Regions from separate parts of the Homo sapiens genome. Here regions 2, 3, 4, 5 and 6 are each linked to region 1. The links are contacts of gene promoters, found by promoter capture Hi-C in blood cells and fetal thymus (Javierre and others, 2016). All regions are on one chromosome and are shown on one strand. The core of a region is centred on a gene start or on the middle of the fragment in contact, and the rest is flanking DNA. Distances in the headings are between cores, read along the strand shown. Region 1 holds the start of KRT74 (keratin 74). Region 2 has its middle 20 kb from the start of KRT18. Region 3 has its middle 7.2 kb from the start of MIR9898. Region 4 has its middle 21 kb from the start of KRT8. Region 5 has its middle 4.0 kb from the start of KRT8. Region 6 has its middle 3.6 kb from the start of KRT18.

The links. Contacts are between HindIII fragments. The CHiCAGO score rates a contact against its expected background, and 5 or more counts as called.
Region 2: a fragment that was not itself captured here is called in contact with the fragment with the promoter of KRT74 in region 1 in 6 of 17 cell types (naive CD8 T cells, M0 macrophages, total CD4 T cells and 3 more); the score reaches 14.3 in naive CD8 T cells.
Region 3: a contact is called between a fragment that was not itself captured here and the fragment with the promoter of KRT74 in region 1, in 9 of 17 cell types (naive CD8 T cells, M0 macrophages, non-activated CD4 T cells and 6 more). The highest score is 15.4, in naive CD8 T cells.
Region 4: a contact is called between a fragment that was not itself captured here and the fragment with the promoter of KRT74 in region 1, in 1 of 17 cell types (naive CD8 T cells). The highest score is 6.2, in naive CD8 T cells.
Region 5: a contact is called between a fragment that was not itself captured here and the fragment with the promoter of KRT74 in region 1, in 2 of 17 cell types (naive CD4 T cells and naive CD8 T cells). The highest score is 6.4, in naive CD4 T cells.
Region 6: a contact is called between a fragment that was not itself captured here and the fragment with the promoter of KRT74 in region 1, in 2 of 17 cell types (M0 macrophages and naive CD4 T cells). The highest score is 7.0, in M0 macrophages.

What each region holds. Positions count from the first base shown.
Region 1 is chr12:52,571,468-52,575,213 of GRCh38, forward strand. KRT74 (keratin 74) reads right to left here and starts at 2,376. Exons shown (of 9, transcript NM_175053.4): 1 at 1,840-2,376; 2 at 986-1,200; 3 at 477-537. The coding sequence starts at 2,310. RefSeq lists an enhancer at 801-970. The HindIII fragment of the contact is 6,698 bases long and covers 135-3,746 here.
Region 2 is chr12:52,967,117-52,970,437 of GRCh38, forward strand. No RefSeq gene overlaps it. Among named protein-coding and RNA genes, the nearest start is that of KRT18, 20 kb to the left of the region's middle. The HindIII fragment of the contact is 7,174 bases long and covers 1-3,321 here.
Region 3 is chr12:52,889,831-52,893,683 of GRCh38, forward strand. No RefSeq gene overlaps it. Among named protein-coding and RNA genes, the nearest start is that of MIR9898, 7.2 kb to the right of the region's middle. The HindIII fragment of the contact is 2,470 bases long and covers 699-3,168 here.
Region 4 is chr12:52,923,981-52,927,629 of GRCh38, forward strand. It overlaps a transcript of KRT8 not described here. Among named protein-coding and RNA genes, the nearest start is that of KRT8, 21 kb to the left of the region's middle. The HindIII fragment of the contact is 7,195 bases long and covers 1-3,649 here.
Region 5 is chr12:52,907,368-52,910,692 of GRCh38, forward strand. It overlaps a transcript of KRT8 not described here. Among named protein-coding and RNA genes, the nearest start is that of KRT8, 4.0 kb to the left of the region's middle. The HindIII fragment of the contact is 423 bases long and covers 1,729-2,151 here.
Region 6 is chr12:52,943,646-52,947,299 of GRCh38, forward strand. It overlaps a transcript of KRT8 not described here. Among named protein-coding and RNA genes, the nearest start is that of KRT18, 3.6 kb to the right of the region's middle. RefSeq lists enhancers at 110-704, 1,894-2,489 and a silencer at 3,440-3,654. The HindIII fragment of the contact is 1,627 bases long and covers 1,308-2,934 here.

The sequences.
Region 1 (3,746 bases), core at 1,126-3,625:
CCAGAGTCATTGGGGGATGCAACCCTCATCCCACAGCTGCCCTGCCCAACTCCTGCCTCAAAGCCACCTGATTTTCTATTTTCTACCCACAAAGGAAAGCTCACTCAATATCAATTTCTTCTCAGGCTGCCTGAAGCTTTGGGAATAGGGAAAGGAGGATGGGGCAGCTCTGTTATGCCTGGAGAAAACAAAGCCCAGAGAGGTAGTAGGTTTCCTCAGGTCACACAGCAAGGTTGAGCTGGACCCGAGTTTCACAGTTCCCAGACCAGAATTCTGTCTGTCTCTGTCCATTTCCTGAGTGTGTGTCTTTCCTCTCCAACTCACTGGAGGCCAGGACTATGACTCCACCCTCACCAGGCACCAGCCCCCTCACCAGGCACCAGCCCCCTCCCCAGCCTCCTGGGCTGAAGTCCTGAGCAGAGTTGTTAAGATGGGGGTGCGAGAGACCCTAATAAGGAGGCTCCTCCCTCTCTTACCTTCTTAAGCACCACAAACTCATTCTCTGCTGTCGTGCGCCGGTTAATCTCCACTTCATATCTGCCAGCAGGGAGAGTAGATGGCCTTAGCCCCCTTAGCCAAGGAACTTTCTCTTCCTGCTGGCCAGGCAAATGTTTGGGATACAGGGTCCCTGCAGGGTCTCTGGGGTGAGCAGTAAGAGGCTAGTGACAGGAGTAAGATATCCCTGAGTTGCTTCACTTGTCTCCTAGTTTTTGCATGTTAGGAAAACACCCAGGTGCCTATTGGGCTCCCGACACCAGCAACTGAACATTTCAGTGGGTCAAGGAGCACAGGAACCGCTTCCTATCAACTAGGCAGGAAGTTATCATCAAAGAGGATAGGCCCTTCCCCCTAGCCAGAGAAAGGGATGTGAGCTCCTGACCCTGGTGCATACTCCCCCATCTCCTAAAAAATAATGGCACAGAGATCAGGTGAGCCCAGAGGCACGGGAAACATGGTCTGTGACCCTCGGGTGGAGCCTGCTCACCTCTTCTTATAGTCCTCCACCAGATCCCTCATGCTTCTCAGCTCCGAGTCCAGCCTCACCCTGTCCCCAGACAGTGTCTCCAGCTGCTTCCGCAGGTTGCTGATGTAGCCCTCAAGGATGGGCTCCAGGTTCTTCTTGCAGTTGTTCAGGTCCAGCTGCTGCAGCAGCTCCCACTTGGTTTCTAGAACCTGGTTCTGCTGCTCTAGGAAGCGTACCTGGAACCCAAATCAACAGACACCTGGAACCACAATGGGTGCAGTCATGCCCCCTGGACACACACCATTGACTCCCCAGGTTTGCCATAGATTGTTGTAGTCATTTTTGCTCATGTCTTGACTCTCCACCCTTGCCATTCCACACAAACTAGATCCTTTACAAGTGCTCATTTCCTAGCCTTCTGGACAAGGCATCACTGAGAACTCACTCAAGGAGTTTCCACAGCTTTCTTCTATTGCTCGGCCCTGGTCCCAGGAGATGTCCTTCCTTATGTCTCAACTAAGTGTCTCTTCCTGTACCATGAGCCCTTCCCTCTGAACACTGCTGGATTCTATTAGCCTTTCATGTTCTTGGAAGATCCAGCTGTCCTCAAGAAACTCATCACTTTTTTGTCAAGGAAGGGCTGCTCTTTACCCAGCTTCCCATCCTTCCCTGCAAAATCGCCAAAGAAGCCGATATATTCATGTATTCCTTTGTCCTCCGTGGCTCACAGACCTACTCTCCTTCCCTAATGGTGAGGAAGCCCTTCCTGAGGCCCAGCTGCACCTTTCCAGCCACAGTGTGCAGTCCATTCCCAGGCAGCAGGAAAACTGCTCAGGCCTCAGGGTGCGGCCTCATCCTCCTCCTATGAGACCCACCTTGTCAATGAAGGAGGCGAACTTGTCGTTCAGCACCTTGATCTGTTCCCGCTCCTGGGCGCGCACCTTCTGGATCTCAGGGTCCAGCTCCACGTTGAGGGGGGCCAAGAGGCTCTTGTTGACAGTGACCTGGTGGATGCCCCCAGGTGGGCACACAGACAAACATGCAGGCCCCAGGGCCACACTGCCAAACATACTGCCAGCAAAGCCACTGGCCCGGCCCCCTCCATACCCAGAGCCAGGCCTGAAGCCGTAACCTCCAGCCCGAACGCCGCCACCAGCCACATTGAAAGAAATACGCCGATTCCCTCCAAGGCTATAGAGGCTCCGACTGCCAAAGCCAGCGCCAGCCCCTCTGCCAGCTGCACAGTAAGAAGCCAGGCTACCCACAGCCTTCCTTGGCACCACTGCCGAATGCACACTGAAGTTGCCCTTGTCACCACTGGACTTGATGTTCAGTTGCCGACTCATGGTGGGAAAGGTTGAGTTGACAGAGCTGGAGAAAAGCAGTCTCCAAGGGGTAGAGAACACACTGATGGGGCACCCAGAGTGCTGCCTCCTTTTATCCCTGTTGAGCCCAGGACACCGGAAAAGGGCGTCTCTCCACTATCTCCTTTCCCCTGCTGATGGGCCAGGGGCCATGGGCAATTTGTAGAACAGAGATCTCCAAGCCCTTTGCAGCAACAAAGCTCTTCTGATAGCAAGTGGAATATGCTGCCCTTGCAGAGTGGAGTGGTCTAATTTGGAGTTTATCTGTGCTCCCTAATTAAGGACCTGAAGAGTTATCCCCTGAAGAGATCTCCTAGCTTTATTTTTCCAGTGCTACCTCCTTCTTGCTTAACCATCAGCAAGGAGCAGGGGAAATGCCTGGCTTTCCCCAGAGTAGACTCACCTGAAAAACCCCAGGTTTCTTCCCAAAAGAAACCATCTCTCTATTATAGGGTCTTGTGTGGAAGCTGGAATTTTTACCTCAGGGAAAAGAAGACATGGAAAGATGATTCTTCTTGGAAAGATGTCCTCAAAGATCTGGATCTGGGTAAGAAGCTCCAGGGTCCGTCCTTGGGCCATGCTAAGGACCACAGCTGTCTAGCAGTGAAGTGGACCCCAGGAAGGAAGAGGAATGACTCTGCAGCATCTGCATGCCCCCCTAGCAGGGATATTGTCTAGGGCCTTCTGTGTTGGGCAGGGCCTGGGTGGTGGTGACCTTGACATTGCCTTACAACCATGAGAACCTTTCCAGTCAGCTGCATTTCCTCCAGTTGGATTTTCTCTCCTGGATAAGATTATTTGTCCTACTCTAGGAAGTCAGGCAGGAGCTGGGATATTAGCCCCTGCACTCCCTGGGGAAACACCCTATGGCTGAAGTCACCAAGGAACAGGACCCCCTGAGTTTCACTCCCAGGTTCAGGGTGGGCTGTTCTGCCAGTTTCCTGGCAACTTCAGGGAGCACTCAATTTTCAAACAGGAAGTATCACTGCTTTATAGCTCAGGTAGTGTGGGTACAGTGCAATGTTAAAAAATTATTTCAGGGCTGGGCATGGTGGCTCACACCTGTAATCCCAGCACTTTGGGAGGCCAAGGAGGGCAGATTGCCTGAGGTCAGGAGTTTGAGTCCAGCCTGGCTAACATGGTGAAACCCCGCCTCTACTAAAAATACAAAAATCAGCCGAGCGCAGTGGTGCATGCCTGTAGTCGCAGCTACTCAAAAGACTGAAGTAGAAGAATCACTTGAACCTGGGAGGCAGAGGTTGCAGTGAGCCTAGATTGTGCCACTGCACTCCAGCCTGGGCAACAGAGCAAGACTCTGTCTCCAAAAAACAAAAAAAATTATTTCAAAGCTAGGTATCTGGCAGCTGCCCTCATGCAAGACTCTGACCACTTCCTATAACTAAACTGAGAACACTTGG
Region 2 (3,321 bases), core at 196-2,695, 390 kb after region 1:
ACCTGAGGTCAAGAGTTCGAGACCAGCCTGACCAACATAGAGAAACCCCGTCTCTACTAAAAATACAAAATTAGCCAGGCGTGGTGGTGCATGCCTGTAATCCTAGCTACTTGGGAGGCTGAGGCAAAAGAATCACCTGAACCCGGGAGGCGGAGGTTGCAGTGAGCCAAGTTTGTGCCATTGCACTCCAGCCTGGGTGACAAGAGTGAAACTCCATTCTCAAAAAAATAAATAAATAAAATAAAATAAATAAACAGATGGTTCAAGTTTGGCCTCTCCCAGTAGGAATCCTCTTTGTGGCCTTCCTAACATCTGGCCTCCGTTTGAAGAATTTATGACAGTATAGCCCCTGTTGGATAATAATTGTATAATTACTGGAACATTATTGTTCCTTCTACTGGGCTGAAATCTGCCTCCTACTAACCTTCTAAACTCAGCTCTGCCCACTAGAGTTACACAGAACTCCCTCTTCCATTAGATTTCAGCCATAAGTGATTATTCTTCCCCTAACCTGTATAAAAGCAGCCCCAGTCACGGTGTAAGGATTTAGCTGCACTGCTGGCCTCAACCTCACCTGCCTGAATGAGCTGGAAAATAATTATCTACACAGAAACAGCCCAAGGAATTAGAATGATAGTGATGCTCAGATCCGGGGAGGCTGTGTCCCCCTGAAGGCCCTGGTCAGATCCTGGTGAAGTGGATGGTGCTGCCACAGGAGGGATGTAGGGTAAACTTCTCAGAGACTCAGGGCACTCCAGTGATCTGGGCCCAAAGCACACAGTTCCTTTTCCTCTCCCCACAATCCACACTGGAGCAGCAGGCTCTAGTGGGCCCCTCCCAGGCTGGCAGAACTTTCCCTATCACCCACTCCCCAGAAGCAAAAAAAGTTTAAAAAGCACCAGCCTAAGGCTGGGTGCAGTGGCTCATGCCTGTAATCCCAGCACTTTGGAAGGCTGAGGCGGGCAGATCACAAGGACAGGAGTTCAAGACGTGCCTGACCAACATGGTAAAACCCCGTCTCTACTAAAAATACAAAAATTAGCCAGGCATGGTGGTGCATGCCTGTAATCCCAGCTACTCGGGAGGCTGAGGCAGGGGAATTGCTTGAACCCGAGAGGCAGAGGTTGCAGTGAGCCAAGATCATGCCATTGCACTCCAGCCTGGGCAATGGAGCAAGACTCCGTCTCAAAAAAAATAAATTATTGTACATTTAAAAATAACTAAAAGAGTATAATTGGATTGTTTGTAACATAAAGGATAAATGCTTGAAGTGATGGATGCCCTGATGAGATTATTATGCATTGTATGCCTGTATCAAAATATCTCGTGTACCCTAAAATAGATACACATACTGGGTACCCACAAAAATTAAAAACTTTTTTTTTTTTGAGACAGAGTTTCACTCTTGTTGCCCAGGCTGGAGTGCACTGGCTCAATCTCGGCTCACTGCAACCTCCGCCTCCCAGGTTCAAGTGATTCTCCTGCCTCAGTCTTCCGAGTAGTTGGGATTACAGGCGCCCACCACCACACCTGGCTAATTTTTTTTTTTTTTTTTTTTTTTTGGATTTGGAGTAGAGACGGGGTTTCGCCATGTTGGCCAGACTGGTCTCGAACTCCTAACCTCAGGTGATCCACCTGCCTCGGCCTCCCAAAGCGCTGGGATTACAGGCATGAGCCACCAGACTCAGCCAAAATTAAAAACTTTAAAAAATAAATTAATAACCACAGCAGTAGCTAGTAGCTAATGGCTACCAGATTGGACAGGACAGTGCAGCACCAGACTGTAAGCTCCCTTTGAGCAGAGACTGGACTATCTTGTTCACTCTTATGCCCTGATACATAACACAATTCCAACACATAAACAGCAGGTTGTTATTTTCTTTTTTAAAGACAAAAATTTGAAATTGTAATTTTTATTAAATTGTAAATAAAATGTTATTTTATTTTATTTAATAACCTATAGCATTTGCCAATATCCAAGGTATAAATACTGCTGTCATGGTTGATTTAAAATGGTTTAATTCTGGGAAGCAAAATTTTCAAATTTAACAATCTTCTCTTACTAGCTTTTGAATGAATAAGCAAATGAATGAACAAATAAATGAGCAAATAACAAACCAAGAGGAGTCTCTGCATGCCTCACCCAAGGAAAAGAGGACAAAGGAGAGTAGAAGAATATTTCAAGATGCCAGCAGTCCTCTCACTCTCTTTGCAGGTCCTCTTTGTTCCAGGAAAGAGAACTTAGTGGGAGAACAATTGAACTTCCTCAGCTTCGCTTCACACACACCCCAGCTTTAAGAAAGCCCAGGAAGAATTTGTTTTTTTTTTTTTTTTTGAGACGGAGTCTTACTCTGTCACCCAGGCTGGAGTGTAGTGGCGTGGTCTCGGCTTCTCAGCTCACTGCAACCTCCACCTCCCAGATTCAAGCGATTCTCCCGCCTCAGCCTCTCCAGTAGCTGGGATTACAGGTGTGCACCACCACGCCCAGCTAATTTTCGTATTTTTAGTAGAGACAAGGATTTCACCACGTTGGCCAAGCTGGTCTCAAACGCCTGACCTCAAATGATCCACCTACCTCGGCCTCCCAAAGTTCTGGGATTACAGACATGAGCCACCTCACCTAGCCTTTGGATTACAGACATGAGCCACCTCGCCTAGCCTTTTTTTCTTTTTAAGGAAAAAAAGAAAAATAAAATCTCATCTTAATCTGCTCCATTTTTTTTTCTTTTTAAAGAAACTTTCCCAAGTCACTTAAACAGTCTTCGTAATGGGAAGGCACTCAAACTATAAATCTCCCTGTCATTTAGGAATGCTCAGTGCAAATGTTTATAGAACCCGGGCACCACTTTCAACCTCTCCTTTGAAGAAGGGCTTTGTAATCCTCCTCTGGGGTCACTCCTACATTCCAAAAATGTTCAGGAAAGGAAGGGAAGGTGCCCACCAGTGGGACAGCTTAGACCCAGGTCCCCACCCTCAGGTTCGGCCCTAAGAACATAAAGATACAAGAAAGGTCACGAGGTTAATTCAAAGCCAAGGAATGTCATGGCAGTAAATGCTGCAGGTGTTCACGGGGAGGATGATGGCCATGATTTGTGGCAGAAGTGAAACCTGAGAGATGCTAAGACTTGTGCAGTGGGAAAGGTGAGAAAATAATGAGAACAAAGTCCCCAAGGCTTGGCTGCATGCCTGGCAGCTAGTAGGTACTGCATAAATACAAGTTCATTGGCTCTCCTTGAGTTGTCTGGCTGGGGTCCCAGAGACTGAAACTTTGCTCTTGGCTGCAGCAGGGGCAAGATCGCAGGGGTGGGTACATGCCAAGCC
Region 3 (3,853 bases), core at 684-3,183, 320 kb after region 1:
AAAAAAAAAAACTTATCAAACTCCCAAATTGTTTGGGCCAGGCTCGGTAGCTCACTCCTGTACTCTCAACACTTTGGGAGGCCAAGGTGAGTTGATCATGAGGTCAGGAGTTCAAGACCAGCCTGGCCAAAATAATGAAACCCCGTCTCTACTAAAAATACAAAACTTAGCCAGGCATGGTGGCATGTGCCTGTAGCCCCAGCTGCTCAGGAGGCTGAGGCAGGAGAATCGCTTGAACCCAGGAGGTGAAGGTTGCAGTGAGCCGAGATCATGCCATTGCACTCCAGCTTGGGCGACAGAGAGAGACTTTGTCTCAAAAAAATAAAAAAGATGGCTATCAATATGGAAATGGTTCATTCCTTTTTATTTGATAATTTTTATTGACCACCTACTATGTGCCTGGCACTCTGCTAAACACTGAAGAATCAGTGGAGAACCAAGCAGATATGGTGTGTCCCTGCCCTCATGGAGCTTACAGTGTATGGGGAAAGGCTGATATTAATAAAATACCTCTGCAGATGAATGAGTGACTGTAATTTACAAGGAGAAAATACAGGGTGCCTTGGGAACTTATCATAGAAACACGCCACTCAGTTTGTGGTGTCTAGAAGACTTTCTTGTCTTGTGGTGTCATAAAACTTTTTGTCTTGTCTTGTGGTGTCAGAAGACTTTCTTGGGGAAGCTGCGTTTGAGCGGAAAGCTTGGGAGTGACTAGGAAAGGCAGGGTGTTCCAAGCAGGGGGCCAGCCATGCAATGCCCTGAGCAGAAGCAAATTCCATGTAGGCTATGCCCTGAAAAGCCTGCACCACTGCATCAGAGAGCAAGGGACAGAGTGGCCAGGATGAGGCCTCAGAGGAGGAAGAGTAGGCACAGCCTGTGGGCCAAGTCAAGATTTAGGGCTTTATTCTGGGTGTCAAAAGTAAAGGGTTTTCCCATCATTCTGAGCAAACTATTGCAAGGGCAGAAAACCAAACACCGCATGTTCTCACTCATAGGTGGGAATTGAACAATGAGAACACTTAGACACAGGGTGGGGAACATCACACACCAGGGCCTGTCGTGGGGTGGGGGTAGAGGGGAGGGATAGCATTAGGAGATATACCTAATGTAAATGAAGAGTTAACGAGTTAACGGGTGCAGCACACCAACATGGCACATGTATACATATGTAACAAACCTGCATGTTGTGCACATGTACCCTAGAACTTAAAGTATAATAAAAAATAAAGAAAGAAAAGAAAAAAATAAAATAAAAATAAAGGGTTTTCCATATAAGGAAGTAACTGAATCTGATTCATATTTTTGAGAATGCACTCTGATTTTGGGGGCAGTGAACTATTCTGTATGGTACTGTAATGGTGGCTACATGGCCCCCACAGAATGTCCACACTAAGAGTTAACTCTAATGTGAACTATGGACTGTGGGTAATAATGATGTGTCAATGTAGGTTCATCAATCGTAACAAATGTATCCCTCTGAGGTGGGATGTTGATGATGTTGTAACAAATGTAGCCCTCTGGTGTGGGATGCAGGTGTAGGGGCAGAATGTGTATGAGAACCCTCTACCTCCTGCTCGATTTTGCTATGAACCTAAAATTGCTCTTTTTTTCTTTTTTTTTTTTTTTTTTTTTTTTGAGACGGAGTCTTTCTCTGTCGCCCAGGCTGGAGTGCAGTGGCATGATCTCAGTTCACTGCAAGCTCTGCCTCCTGGGTTCACACCATTCTCCTGCCTCAGCCTCTCGAGTAGCTGGGACTACAGGCGCCTGCCACCACACCCAGATAATTTTTTTGTATTTTTTAGTAGAGACGGGGTTTCACCATGTTAGCCAGGATGGTCTCGATCTCCTGACCTCGTGATCCACCCGCCTCAGCCTCCCAAAGTGCTGGGATTACAGGCATGAGCCACAGCGCCTAGCTAAAACTGTTCTTAAAAAATAAGTCTACTAAAAAAAAGTGCACTCTGGCAAGGGGCCCAAGTGAACCTTCTGTGATATAGGAAATGTTCTACATTACAGGTGTGAACATAAGTTAAAACTCATCAGGCGCCGGGCACGGTGGCTCACGCCTGTAATCCCAGCACTTTGGGAGGCTGAGGCGGGTGGATCACCTGAGGTCGGGAGTTGCCTGACCAACACGGAGAAACCCCGTCTCTACTAAAAATACAAAATTAGCCCGGCGTGGTGGCGCATGCCTGTAGTCCCAGCTACTCAGGAGGCTGAGGCGGGAGAATCGCTTGAACCTGGGCAGCGGAGGTTGCAGTGAGCCGAGATCGTGCCATTGCACTTCAGCCTGGGCAACAAGAGTGAAACTCCATCTCAAAAAAAATAAATAAAAATAAAAATAAAAAAACTCATCAGGTTGTACATTCCCCATTAAAGCACATTTTGCATTTTATTGTATGTACAATATGCCTCAGCAAGGAGGAAACAAAGGGACTTGTGATTGGCCAAGGCTGGCCCATTGTGAACCCTGTGTGCCTGGACAGAGGTCCTGTGATCTTAGGAGGAACAGTTCCTGAAAAGAAGTGGGGCGTGGCAGGAGTGGAGGTGGGGGAGCTTTGCATTACTAGAAGAAGGGGGAAGGGGTCCTGGCTAGACAAAGCAACTATGCCCACCACAATGTGTAAAAGGGCAGCGCGGAGAGTGAACTAGGGGGCCACCCACCATGCTGGTATCCTTCCCTGCCTTCCTTTCCTTGCAGTGGTGCTTCCTCTTCCTTTCCCAACAGGTAGAATCTATGATATATAATTACGTAGGGACATGCATGCACACATTTCTATCTATCCTTCATGAAGGGTATGTACTGTCCGCATTGTCACATGCCTTGCTTTAACATTCACTCCTCCATTCCCACCACCTTACACTCCAGTCAGCCTGGCCCTCGGTCCTTAGCCCACCTTCAGATCCCCCTACTACAGGGGAGCTCCTAGACCACCTTAGCCCAGATCAGCGGGCAGGCAGAGCAAAACCTTGGAATTAAAATATCTTCAGAAGAGTCCACAAATGCTTGGAAGACTCATCATTTTAATCCTGGGTGGTTGGGTCGGGAAAGGCAGGGTGGAGGGAAGTGGGGGATAATGGCTGGCTCATCTGGAATAGTCAAACAGGAACCTTCTTCTACACATGTAAATTTTCTAAAAAACTAAAATTCAGTCCCATAGGAAATCAAGCTTTAAAAACAAAAAGTCTACTAAAATTTAAATGTGCACACATTTTGCTTCAGCAATTCCACTTGTAGGAATTATTAAGATATCCTCACCATTGTCATAGCAAATACCAATAGAGGACTGGTTAAGTAAATTGTGGCACATCCCAAAGTGGAATATTATGCAGCTGTGAAAAAGAGTGGAGAAGCAACTTGTATACTGATATGGAAGGAACAGGTATTGGGTGAATGTTAAAGCAAGGCATGTGACAACACATATAGTACAATACCCTTCATGAAGGATAGATAGAAATGTATGCATGTATGTCCCTATGTAACTATATATAATAACTTCTACTTGGAATGAATCACAGGAAACTGGTAGCATTAATTGCCCTCTGGAACAGAAACTGGCTGACTGGGGAAGGGTCCTCTTGTACTTTTGAATTATGTATAAAGGCCGGATGTGGTGGCTCACACCTGTAATCCCAGCACTTTGGGAGGCCGAGGCCTCCTGGCTAACATGGTGAAACCCCGTCTCTACTAAAAAATAAAAAAAATTAGCCAAGTGTGGTGGCAGATGCCTGTAGTCCCAGCTACTCGGGAGGCTGAGGCAGGAGAATGGCGTGAACCCAGGAGGTGGAGCTGGAGCTGGCAGTGAGCCGAGATCATGTCACTGCACTCCAGCCTGGGTGACAGAGCGAAGAC
Region 4 (3,649 bases), core at 160-2,659, 350 kb after region 1:
ATTACAGGCGCCCGCCACCACGCCTGGCTAATTTTCGTATTTTTTCAGTAGAGACGGGGTTTTACCATGTTGGCCAGGCTGGCCTCAAACTCCTGACCTCAGGTGATCCGCCTGCCTCAGCATGAGCCGAGTTGTGAGCCACCCACCACACCCGGCCAAAAGCATTATACTTAAAATCATACATTAGGCCAGGCGCAGTGGCTCATGCCTGTAATCCCGGCACTTTGGGAGGCTGAGGCAGACAGATCACAAGGTCAGGAAATCGAGACCATCCTGGCTAACACGGTGAAACCCTGTCTCTACTAAAAATACAAAAAAATTAGGCGGGCATGGTGGCGGGCGTCTGTAGTCCCAGCTACTAGGGAGGCTGAGGCAGGAGAATGGCATGAACCCGGGAGGCGGAGCTTGCAGTGAGCTGAGATTGCGCCACTGCACTCCAGCCTGGGCGACAGAGGGAGACTCCGTCTCAAAAAAAAAAAAAAAAATCATACTTGATTTGGGCTCTCAGCTTTTGTTCTCTCATATGTAAAATAAATTAGATTGAGGCTGCAGTGAACTATGACAGGCCACTGCATTCCAGCTTGGGCGACAGAGCCAGACCCTGTCTCAAAAAAATAAATAAAAATTTAAAAATAAAATAAATTATATGATGATAATGTTTGTAAAGATAATTGTAAAGATAATTGTAATTTGTAAAGATAATTGCTTGTATAGGACACTACTGTATAGGACACTACTGTGATGGGAAAAGACCATGCACTCTTCTCTAAGAATTCACCGTTCCTTCTGTCTTTTGCCTTCCTCCCCTCAGCTAAAGGGCTCCTGGAGTGAAGTGGACCCTCAGCTGTACTCTGTGGTCTGCGGCAACAGCCAACGCACAGAGGAGCATCCTCTCCTTAACTAAGCACCGAAAGGGAGTGAAAGGGTAGACTGAAGGAAGGACTTACTAATTCAAGGAGTCATTGGAGCAGAAATGAGTGACCAGGAATGGGGAGGATGCGTCTGTGGAAAAGGAACAGGGCTGGGCCCCCTTCTCACTGGTCCTAGATGGGATCAGGCCTGCCCAGAAGCCAAGAAAAAGATGTTGTATAGACCTCAATGGGGCAAGGCCGGGATGATTGAGGGGATACCTTCAGGGGAGGAGGTGCTAGGCAGTTTTCTGAAAATGGTGCGTTCAGACAGCTCACTATTTCCTGTAGTAATTCCAGGAAAAGACTGAGTAAGACAAGGTCAGGACCGGGAGGAATGCAGCTGGAGGAGGTGTGTATGCACAGTCTCCCCAGGGTGAGCCTGTCCAGAGCCATAAACCTTATCTCCTTCCTCTGAATAGCTGGGATAGCTATCTCTGGCTCCCAGGGGCTCAGGCTGAGTCAGGGCTGGAGGCTGGGAGAGACTGTGGGCCCCGAAGCATACCTAAAACTGTGAGACCACTCAGCACTTAGGTATGAATGGCGCCATTTAGGGTCTGAAATGGTCACCATTTTCAGAAACCTGCTCAACACCTCTTCCCCTGCAGGTATCCCCCTCCGTCATCCTGGCCTTGCCCCATTGATACCTGAAGTGTGGCACATTCAGGAATGAGATTGGAGCAAAAGGGATCTCTTTGGCGGAGGTGGGGTCAAAGAGATAGATTAGGATGATTCATCTCCACAAAGGCTAAGGCTTTAGATTCCTACCAGCCAGCCCCAGGCCAGAAATTTCCCCTTCAAGGAAAGTTGGGCTCCAGGGCTGGGCAATACTATCACCTCAATTATCCCTCTGTTCCTGAGTTCTAGGGTTTATGCACAGTTCTTAATGGGGCCTAATAGTTTCTTTGTCTCTTCCAGCCCTCTATCTTAGAGGACAGGAGGTGGAGCCTACCAACAAAGGGACCCAGGTTCCAGTTCCAGGGCTGCGTTTCTCTCCCCCTCAGGGCCCATTACTCTGAGCTGGGCCCCAGGTAGGGGAGGAAGGAGGAGAAAGGAGGCAGTGTTCTCATGTTCTCTGTGTCCCTGAGAAATTCCCCACCTCCCTTTCAAGCTCCCTCCTAGCAGGCTGGTGAGACCTGCCCTGGAGACAGGCTGGTGCGAGAGGCCCCCTCTGCAGAGTGGAAGGGGGTGACATAATTGCCTGTCCTGAGACTTCTAGACATGTACACACTGTCCCTCTGCCTGGTGTGTCCCTGCCCCCCGCCCCCCACCACCTCTCCTGCTCGCTCAGGTATCCTCTCCAGTGCCCAGCCAGACTGATCTTCTACAAACACTGCTTTGATCCTGTCACTCCCTAGCCCAGAGCTTCCCGTTGCCTTCAGAATAAAGGTCAAATTCCTCATCTGGTGGCTGAGGCTTAGCCTTCCCCACCTGGCACTAGCTGCCCTCCCCACCCCACCCCCAGGACTGTGCCCTCCTCTCCTGAAGCACCTCCTTGTCACCTGCACCTGTTGAAACCTTACCCTTCCTGCAGGTCCTGGCTCCAGCTCACCCCATTCATTCCGCAAACATTTGCTGAATGAAAATCATGCATCAGGCACCTCCCCACAAAGCCTGCCCCAGTCACCTCTGCCGGAAGTGGCCACTCCTATAGAGACCCCAAGAATAGGGCTTTGTTACACCCCTGGGCTGGGTTACACTTGCTGTGGGCATGTCTGAGCTCCCCTCCCTGATTGTAAACCTGATCCACAGTCATTTAGCATGCACTGAACATCCACTATTAATGAGGCATTTTCCATATTTGTCTCATTTGACCCTCACAAGGACCTTGGGAGTTCAGTCTTCTTATCCTTATTTACAGATGAGGAATCCAAGGCTCTAAGAAGTAATGTGCCCAGCAAGTAGTAGTCAGAGCTCAAACCGGAGTCCTGTACCCTAAGTCCAGGGCCCGCACATCAGCGCCAAGGCATCTTCCTCAAAAGTAGGGGCGTGTCTTATACATGTTTCTGCTTCCCTCCACACCCAGCACAGGAACTTGTTTGATTCACTGAATGAATGAATGAATGAATGAATGAATGAATGAATGATTCAATTCTATCCCATGAGTCCTCTTCTCTACTCTGACCCTATCTCCTCTCTCCCACATTGCTTTTTTCCTATCTTCTGTCCCTTACCCTGGACCCCAAGGATTCCCCCCAAGGGAGGAAAGAAGCTGTGATTGTTTCATGGATACCAGAGATGGGAGCTAAGCCTCAGAAGGGTGTCCACAGCCTGGACACACCCCAGGGAGGAGATTCAGGACAGGAAGACCCCTTCACCTTCACCACCACTCAGTTTGATAGACCCAGGAGAGTTCCAGTCCTTCTCTCCACCCCTCCCCAACTCCAGCAGGAAATAGGTGGGCCCAAGGGAGCAGCAGGACAAGCCAGAGAACAGTGAGAGGGTGAAGAGGGGCCCAGATTCAGTGACTCACCACCCTTGGGCCTCCCCTGGGGAAAGGGTGGGGAGCCTGGACACTTGGAATTCCTGCCTGTCCCTAGGGAGACACTTGGGTGTTAGGAGGCTGAACAGGAGGAGGAAGAGCTCTGTTTGTCCCAAACTAAGGGGTGGCCATGGCAACAAGGCCAGAGCCATCAGGGCTGGGAGCAAAGGTCCTGGCCAGGGGTGGAGTCGCGAGGGCCCTGCTGCCTGCCTGCCAACTGGGCCACTGTCCACACCATGCCAGCCAGGCCTTCTCTGAC
Region 5 (3,325 bases), core at 690-3,189, 340 kb after region 1:
GCAGCCCTGGAAAGGGAGGACAGGCGCTCTCCCTATCTTCCCTCCCCCACGCTGCTGTTAGAGGGAGCAGGGGGCACTCAGGTCCTGATCTAGGCAGCACAAGGAGCAAAAAAACAGCACCCCAAAGCCTTTCCTGAAATTCCAGTCCCCTCCACCCCACCTTTCTGGTTCCCTGGTTCTAGGAGTGTCCCTTGTTTAAGGTGAGGACAGAGGGGGTTGCCAGGGACCCTGCAGTATGCAGGCTGGAGGGCTGACCCAGACCTTACCCAGCCAGGGGAAGCCCTTTTTTTCTGGGGCAGCCCAGAACCGTCTAGGGCCAGAAGTGTTTGTGTCTCATTTGTCATCTCTCTATTGCCCAGAGACCCCAGCCAAACCTTCCCCCAGATGCCCCAAGCACAGCCTCGGTGCAGGAGAAGAGGCCAGAGTTGGCCTCTCTGATGGCCCCTGCCTGGGACTTCAGGGTTAAAGGCAGAAGGAGAAGGCCCCTGGGACTAGGGCCAAGTGGTGAGGGAAGAGAGAACCAGACTGGAGCAGGCCCACAGGTACAACTCCTTGTAAGGCATTGTGGTCTACACACAGCTGCCTGCCGGACAAAAGGGAACAACGTGTTTGCGGTGCCTGCCCTACCCAGACAACTCTGCCTCAAACCGCCTTTCCTGGAGAGTGAACCAGGGAAGGAGGAGACACTCACTCCCTGTGGGCCAAGAGTGAGGGCCAGGCCCCCTACTTCTGATGGTGCAGGATAATTCAGAGAAGGCCCTGAGACCCTGAGCAGTGGCATTAAGTCTTGGGGCCAGTGGGGTGGGGAGGTAGCTGTTATCATCACTCATGATCATGGGAAGAGATGGTCTGAACAAGTTTTTTTTTTTCTTTTTTGAGACGGAGTCTCGCTCTGTCACCCAGACTGGAGTGCAGTGGCGCAATCTCGGCTCACTGCAAGCTCCGCCTCCCGGGATCTGAACAAGTTTTGCTTAGAGATCAGGACTGATGATCTCATTCGCTGCAACCTTGTTCATAATAGCCAAAGAGTGGGAACAAAACAAATGTCCACCAAATGACGAATGGATTTCTTTAATGTGGCATATCCATACGATCTAATGTTACAATTAAAAGGAATGAACTACTGATGCATGTTGGATGCAGATGAGCCTTGAAACCCGTATGCTCAGTGAAAGGAGACAGTCATAGAAGATCAGGTACCCTATGATTCCATTTATATGACATGTGCACAACAGGCAAAGCATAGAGACAGGAAGTAGATTAGTGGTTGCCTAGGGAGGGGAGGAATGGAGATGAATGCTAAAGAGCACAGGGTTTCTTTCTGGGGTGATGAGAATGTTCTAAATTTGATGGTGGTGGGCAGGCACAATGGCTCTACCTATAATCCCAGCACTTTGGGAGGTCGAGGCAGGAGGATTACTTTAGCCCAGGAGTTTGAGACCAGCTGAGCAACATAATGAGACCCCCGTCTCTACAAAAAATACAAAAATTAGCCAGGTATGGCGGCACACGCCTGTAGTCCCAGCTGCCCTGGAGGCTGAGTTGTGAGGATCACCTGAGCCCCGAAAGTTGAGGCCGCATGCATTGAGCCAAGACTGTGCCACTGCACTCTAGCCTGCGTGGGAGACAGAGTGAAACTCTGTCTCAAAAATAAATAAATAAATAAACAAATTTGATGATGGTGAAGCTGCACAAGTCTGTGAACATACTAAAAATCACTGAACTGCAAGCTTCAGATTGTTGAATTATATTGTATGTGAATTACAGCTCAACAAAGTTGTAACAAAAAGATAACCACAAAAGCATAAATGAGCTACATATAAAAAGCAGGGGCTTTGTGCCCAGCATAAGGGGTCAGGGGAAAGAAGCAAAGAGTTTGTTTAGATGCCCCAGGTAAAGAGGCTTCCTGCCTCTGGGTTAAGGCAATGCCCGAAAAGCACCCGAAATCCCTTTAAATGATGGAGCATTTTGAAATGTTATTATTGGTATAGAAATAGCTGCATTTAGCATAGAGACAGCAGAACAATTTGTTTAAATAGGAAGCCACAGGTGGTGGGTACACCCCTCAGGAAGCAGCATCATGAATAATAGAGTCAATTCGATTGCTAATTTTGTGTTATGTGCCTCAAGGCTAAAATTTTTCATTGTCAAAGCTTAGCAAATGCTGACTTTTTTGCTCTTGATCAGTGATGGATCTGATGATTAAAGCCAGCCAGGATGGAAATGGACTGCCTAGAGAGGGAGCAACCTCCTGTACCTGGAGACATGGAGAGGGACCTTGCTCACCAGCTGTCCACTGGCTCAGTGGGAGGGGGTTCTCACATCTGCTAGGGTTTGAATTAGAATGTCCAAGTCCCGCCAACTCTGAAAGCTTTTGATCCACATCCACCACCATAGAGCTTTACGCACTGAAGATGAAAATCTGTGAATGTTCTCTGGTTTGAAATTTTGCTTGTGATAAGAGATATGATTAGAAATTATTAGAACAAGAGTGAGGGAGGACAGCACAGCCTTGTTGTGGAGGAAGGAGACACAAGCCCAGCAGCCTGAAGATGTTGAGGTCTCCCACACTTTTTTTTCTTTTTTTTAGAGACAGGATCTCACTATGTTGCCCAGCCTGACTCGAACTCCTGGATGCAAGCAATCCTTCTGCCTCAGCCTCCCAAAGTACTAGGGTTACAGCGTGAGCCACTGCACACAGCCTTTCTCACATTTTCAACATTCTCTCACCCTCCTCTCCACTGATGCCAAACCAAGAAGGTCATCCCACTGGGTGAGCATGAAGCCTAGGCGGAAGGTCCCAGCTATGGCTCAGTCCACAGAGTCCTTCCCCTTAACTCTGGTTCTCCATCACATCAAGATCGCCCGTGGGAGATTATAACAGTATACGTGCTCAGGTCGCACCCCGTCTGCATTTTCAAAGCTTCCTCGGTACAGCCAGAGTCAGGCACCAGGCTTTAGCTCTGGTCCCAACACCAAGACCTTTAGGAACACACTTTCTTCCTCTTCCCAGAGGAAATAGGCCAGAGCTCAAATCCACAGCACTGCAGGTTCCTGCTTAGAAAGGGTGATATACTCTGTCCCTCAGGAAGGAAAACAGAGTGGTTCAGTCCCCAGAACCTGAAACTCCACCACCGTTGGCCAGGGCCACAGAGACAGAGACAGAGACTGCGAGAGGACAGACACAAATGGGTCCCACTCCTGACAGTGAAGACAGCGGTACTGGGGACTTGAGTGACAGGAAGTGGAAGTTATTGAGAGGATTTCAAGGAAACTTCAGAAGCTGACATTGCGATAGGGGAAGCCCTCATGGTGTTCAGGCAAC
Region 6 (3,654 bases), core at 871-3,370, 370 kb after region 1:
ACAGGCACACCCTGCCAGGAAACAAGGAAGAGGCTCCCTCTCTGCAATTTGTGTAAAGGCCCCGCAGGTTAGCTGTGACCCTGGCATCCATACCTCCTGCCCCATGCCTCTCCCAAGCTCCAGCCCTGCTCTCCTAGCTGCTCACAGGATAGTTCCCTAAACACTGCTGGCAGAACCTGCCCAGCCTAGGCCAGGAAAGAGGCTGACAGAGACAGAGCCGGCTGACTGGATGATCTGGAGATAGGTTCTTGGCCACTCTGTTCTTCCATTTCACCCCCCTTTTCAAAGACTCAGTCTTAGCCACCCTGCCCTGAGCCCATGTTAGATGGAAAAAAATAGTGGTGAGCAGGGAGCAGAAGGCTGGAGAGTAGTAAGTGCAAAAGAACAAGGGGGCTGGGAAGAAAAGGAGCAAATGGGGCAAAGCAGACAGGAGGGGAGGTCAGCTGGCTTCTCAGCTGCCAAAGCTCTTCCAGGCACGTCATCTCATTTGGTCCTCATGAAAACTCTCTAAGTGGATATTACTATTTTTCTCATTCTACAGCTGAGGAGAGACCAAGCTAGTAAAGGCTGCTCAAGATCACTAAGCCAGCAGTGGGGAATATTGTGAAATATTGAAATATTTTATTATTTCATAGAGACAGGGTCTTGTTATACTGCCCAGGCTGGTCTCAAATTCCTGGCCATAAGCGATTCTCCCACCTCAACCTCTCAAAGTGCTGGGATTACAGGCATGAGCCACCTGGCCGAATCCAGGTCTTTTGACACCAAGTGCCCTATTCATCCCTTTGCCCTCCCCTAATCTCTGGGCAGATTTGAGTGAGGCGATAGGCTGGGGGATATGGCATTGGGATACTGGGGTTGCACCTGAGGAGAAGCCAACAGCACCAGGGTCAGAATGGGCAAAGGACATAAGCACAGGCAAGGCCATTCCTGGTGGGGCTGGGCCAGGGAGCTGAGGGGCTCCTAGAAGGGCCAGGTTCCCCGACTTCTCTGAGCTTCAGCGCCTGGAGGTTTCTGGGCAGCCACACGCTTCTCAGCGCTGACCCTTCCTCTTCCTTTATCCTTGGAAAATAACCCCTAGGGCACAAACCCAACCGAAGCAATGATACTAAGTGTCAGGGCATTCCTCGACTCTCCCACCCCTGGGGAAGAGGGCCTGGCCCAAGCCCTGAGAACCCGTTCCCACCTCCACAGGCAGTGCCAGGGACTCCAAATAGGGTGCTGAAATTCCAGAAGTCTTGATATCAGACTGGGTCCTGCACCCAGCTGCCACCCGCATCCTCCCCCTGCTCCGCAGCTGCCTCTGAAGCTTGTACCCTTGCCCCCACCTCTTGTCTCTCTGCAGTCTACCTGACTGCACTTTCTGATGACCCCCACTGACCTCTCCTAGCACCCCATGTTTATTAATTACTTAAACCTAAAGTATTTACGGAGCTCCACCTATGTGCCAGATGCAGGGCTGGGCAGGAGGATTCCCATTCCACCCCAGATTCCTTTTCCTTTGGGTTCTACCCCAGATCTCCCTCTGTCTCAACAGCTCTACCCTTAACTCAGCAGCCCTGGGATTTCTCCTGTGGGAGGGCCCCCTGCATGGGTATACCCTCCACTGAGAGTAGCTGAAAGGAGCCCAGGGGAGCCTCCCAGGCGATCCCTTCCTCCCTCCAGCCCACCCCACCACAGGGCCTTCTCACTGTCTCCAACACACTGGAGTCACCCTCAGTCTTTAAAGAAGAGGATGGGAATCAGTCTCTCCCTGTTTTGTGTATAGACCCCATCCTTACACCTCAGTTGCTGTTCCGAACACCTCCCTCCTCCAGGCTGAGCAAGGAATTTCCAGCCTAAATGTTAAAGCAAAGGCGGAAGGACTGCAGGCCTTCCAATCCTCCCTAATCCTCTCATCTCTCCACCACCTAGTTTCCCCAGAGCCATCAGCTCAAGCCCTTTGTGGGAGAATGTGGAGTGGGCAGTAAGAGCTGACCCACCCCTATCGGGTCATCTCTGAGTCTACTCTGAAGTTAAACCTGCCTCACAGGTTCCCACTCCCCTTCTGCTGGACGCTGGAATGCAGGACTGATGGTGGGTGGAGAACCATTTCCCCTCTTTCCGGATTCCCCCCTGCCGAGGCTCATTACTCTTTGTGTCTGTTCTGGGAGCTTCTCACCAGGGCCCCTCCTGCTCCACCCTTTCCCGGGACTGTCCTCACAATCACGCCATCCCCCTTTCCACCTTGCTTCCCACCCCCACCCCAGAACCCTAGTGCTGGGAATCTGGAGGCCGAGACCTTCACCCCAGCTCTCCAAGAGGCTCTCTGACAAAGTGAAAAAGCCCTGAGCCACAGAGGAATCTGGAAGTGGTGGAAAGGGGCAGGCTGGTGCTGGAAGCCCGAGGTCGGTATTTGCCCCATGCTGCAAGAAGTCAGGAATGTGGCCATCGACATCAGTAGGAGAGATAAAGTCTAGCTGGCAGCTCTCCCTCTCCAGCCCCCACGCTGCACCTCCACAGGTCCCAGAAGTTTCCTAGCAGTTGGGGTGGGGCAGGAATCAGACAAGGACCTGGGAATTAGCTTGGAGAAAAATTCTAGAATCTGTTTTGATTGCTGGTAGATTTCAAAGTGCCCCAGGGTTTTTAAATGACTCAGAGAGACAGACTTCAAACCCCTTGAGCCCGTCTTTCGAATTAAATTGACCCCCTTTATCTGCCCTCCTGTATATATTGAAGCCTTCCTTACTTTGAAGGAAGGCTCCAGTACAAATAATTAGTATTTGTTTGATGAATGAGTGAGTGACAATTTACACTCACATTCACTGCCACCTGAGGAAATAGACTGGACAGGTCTTACTGTTTTCCCTGTACAAGTGAAGAAATTGAAGTTCAGAGTTAGGTGACTTCCCCAAGGTTACACAGCTAGCAAAGTATCCAGGCTGGCTGACTTAAAGCTTAGCAATAACAGTAAAAGGCAGTACGTAGCTTGTTGACTCCACATACTTTATTATAAAATACTGCCCAACTTGACAGTTCTGGAATCCAGTGGGGGAATATAAAGGTGAAAGCAGGAGAGACCCCTCTGACTGGAACCTCTTACCTCCCAGAAGCCTTGTATGCAAAACCAGTGGGCATTCATTTGTATGTTATTTTGCATCCCGTTTGCCTCCCAGCCTTCAGCAGGCCCCGACCCTCCCCTGGCCAGCTTCCACCCTGACTGCCCCCTGGCTGGCTCCCATTGAGCACTGTGGGGCTCTCCCCACCATTAGGTGACAGATCAGGAACAATCCAGGCTCAGGCTCTTTATCTGTGCTCTGCCTCCCACCTGGCAGGTCCACTGGCCAGGCTTTTCCAGGGTCCCTTCTCTCCCAGGTCTGCCCTACTATTTGTCCTCCCCTTCCCCCTCAGCTGGTAGCTCGATAAGAATCAATAGGTCCACTCCAGAGCAAAGAACACAGCCAAATGTGTCATACCAGGCCCTGCCAGAAAAACGAGCTGCTGGAGCTGACAAACTTGAAGGCCAAACACCTAAGGGTTCCCCCCAACACTTCATTCAGCAGGGATGGTCATTCAGCTTCAGGGGGCAGGCAGCATGAAAGCCTCCCTACCTCCATCCTTCTCACACAGAGGCTGGGGAGAGCATCTTGGAGGATGCAGTCCCCTGGGGCCAGG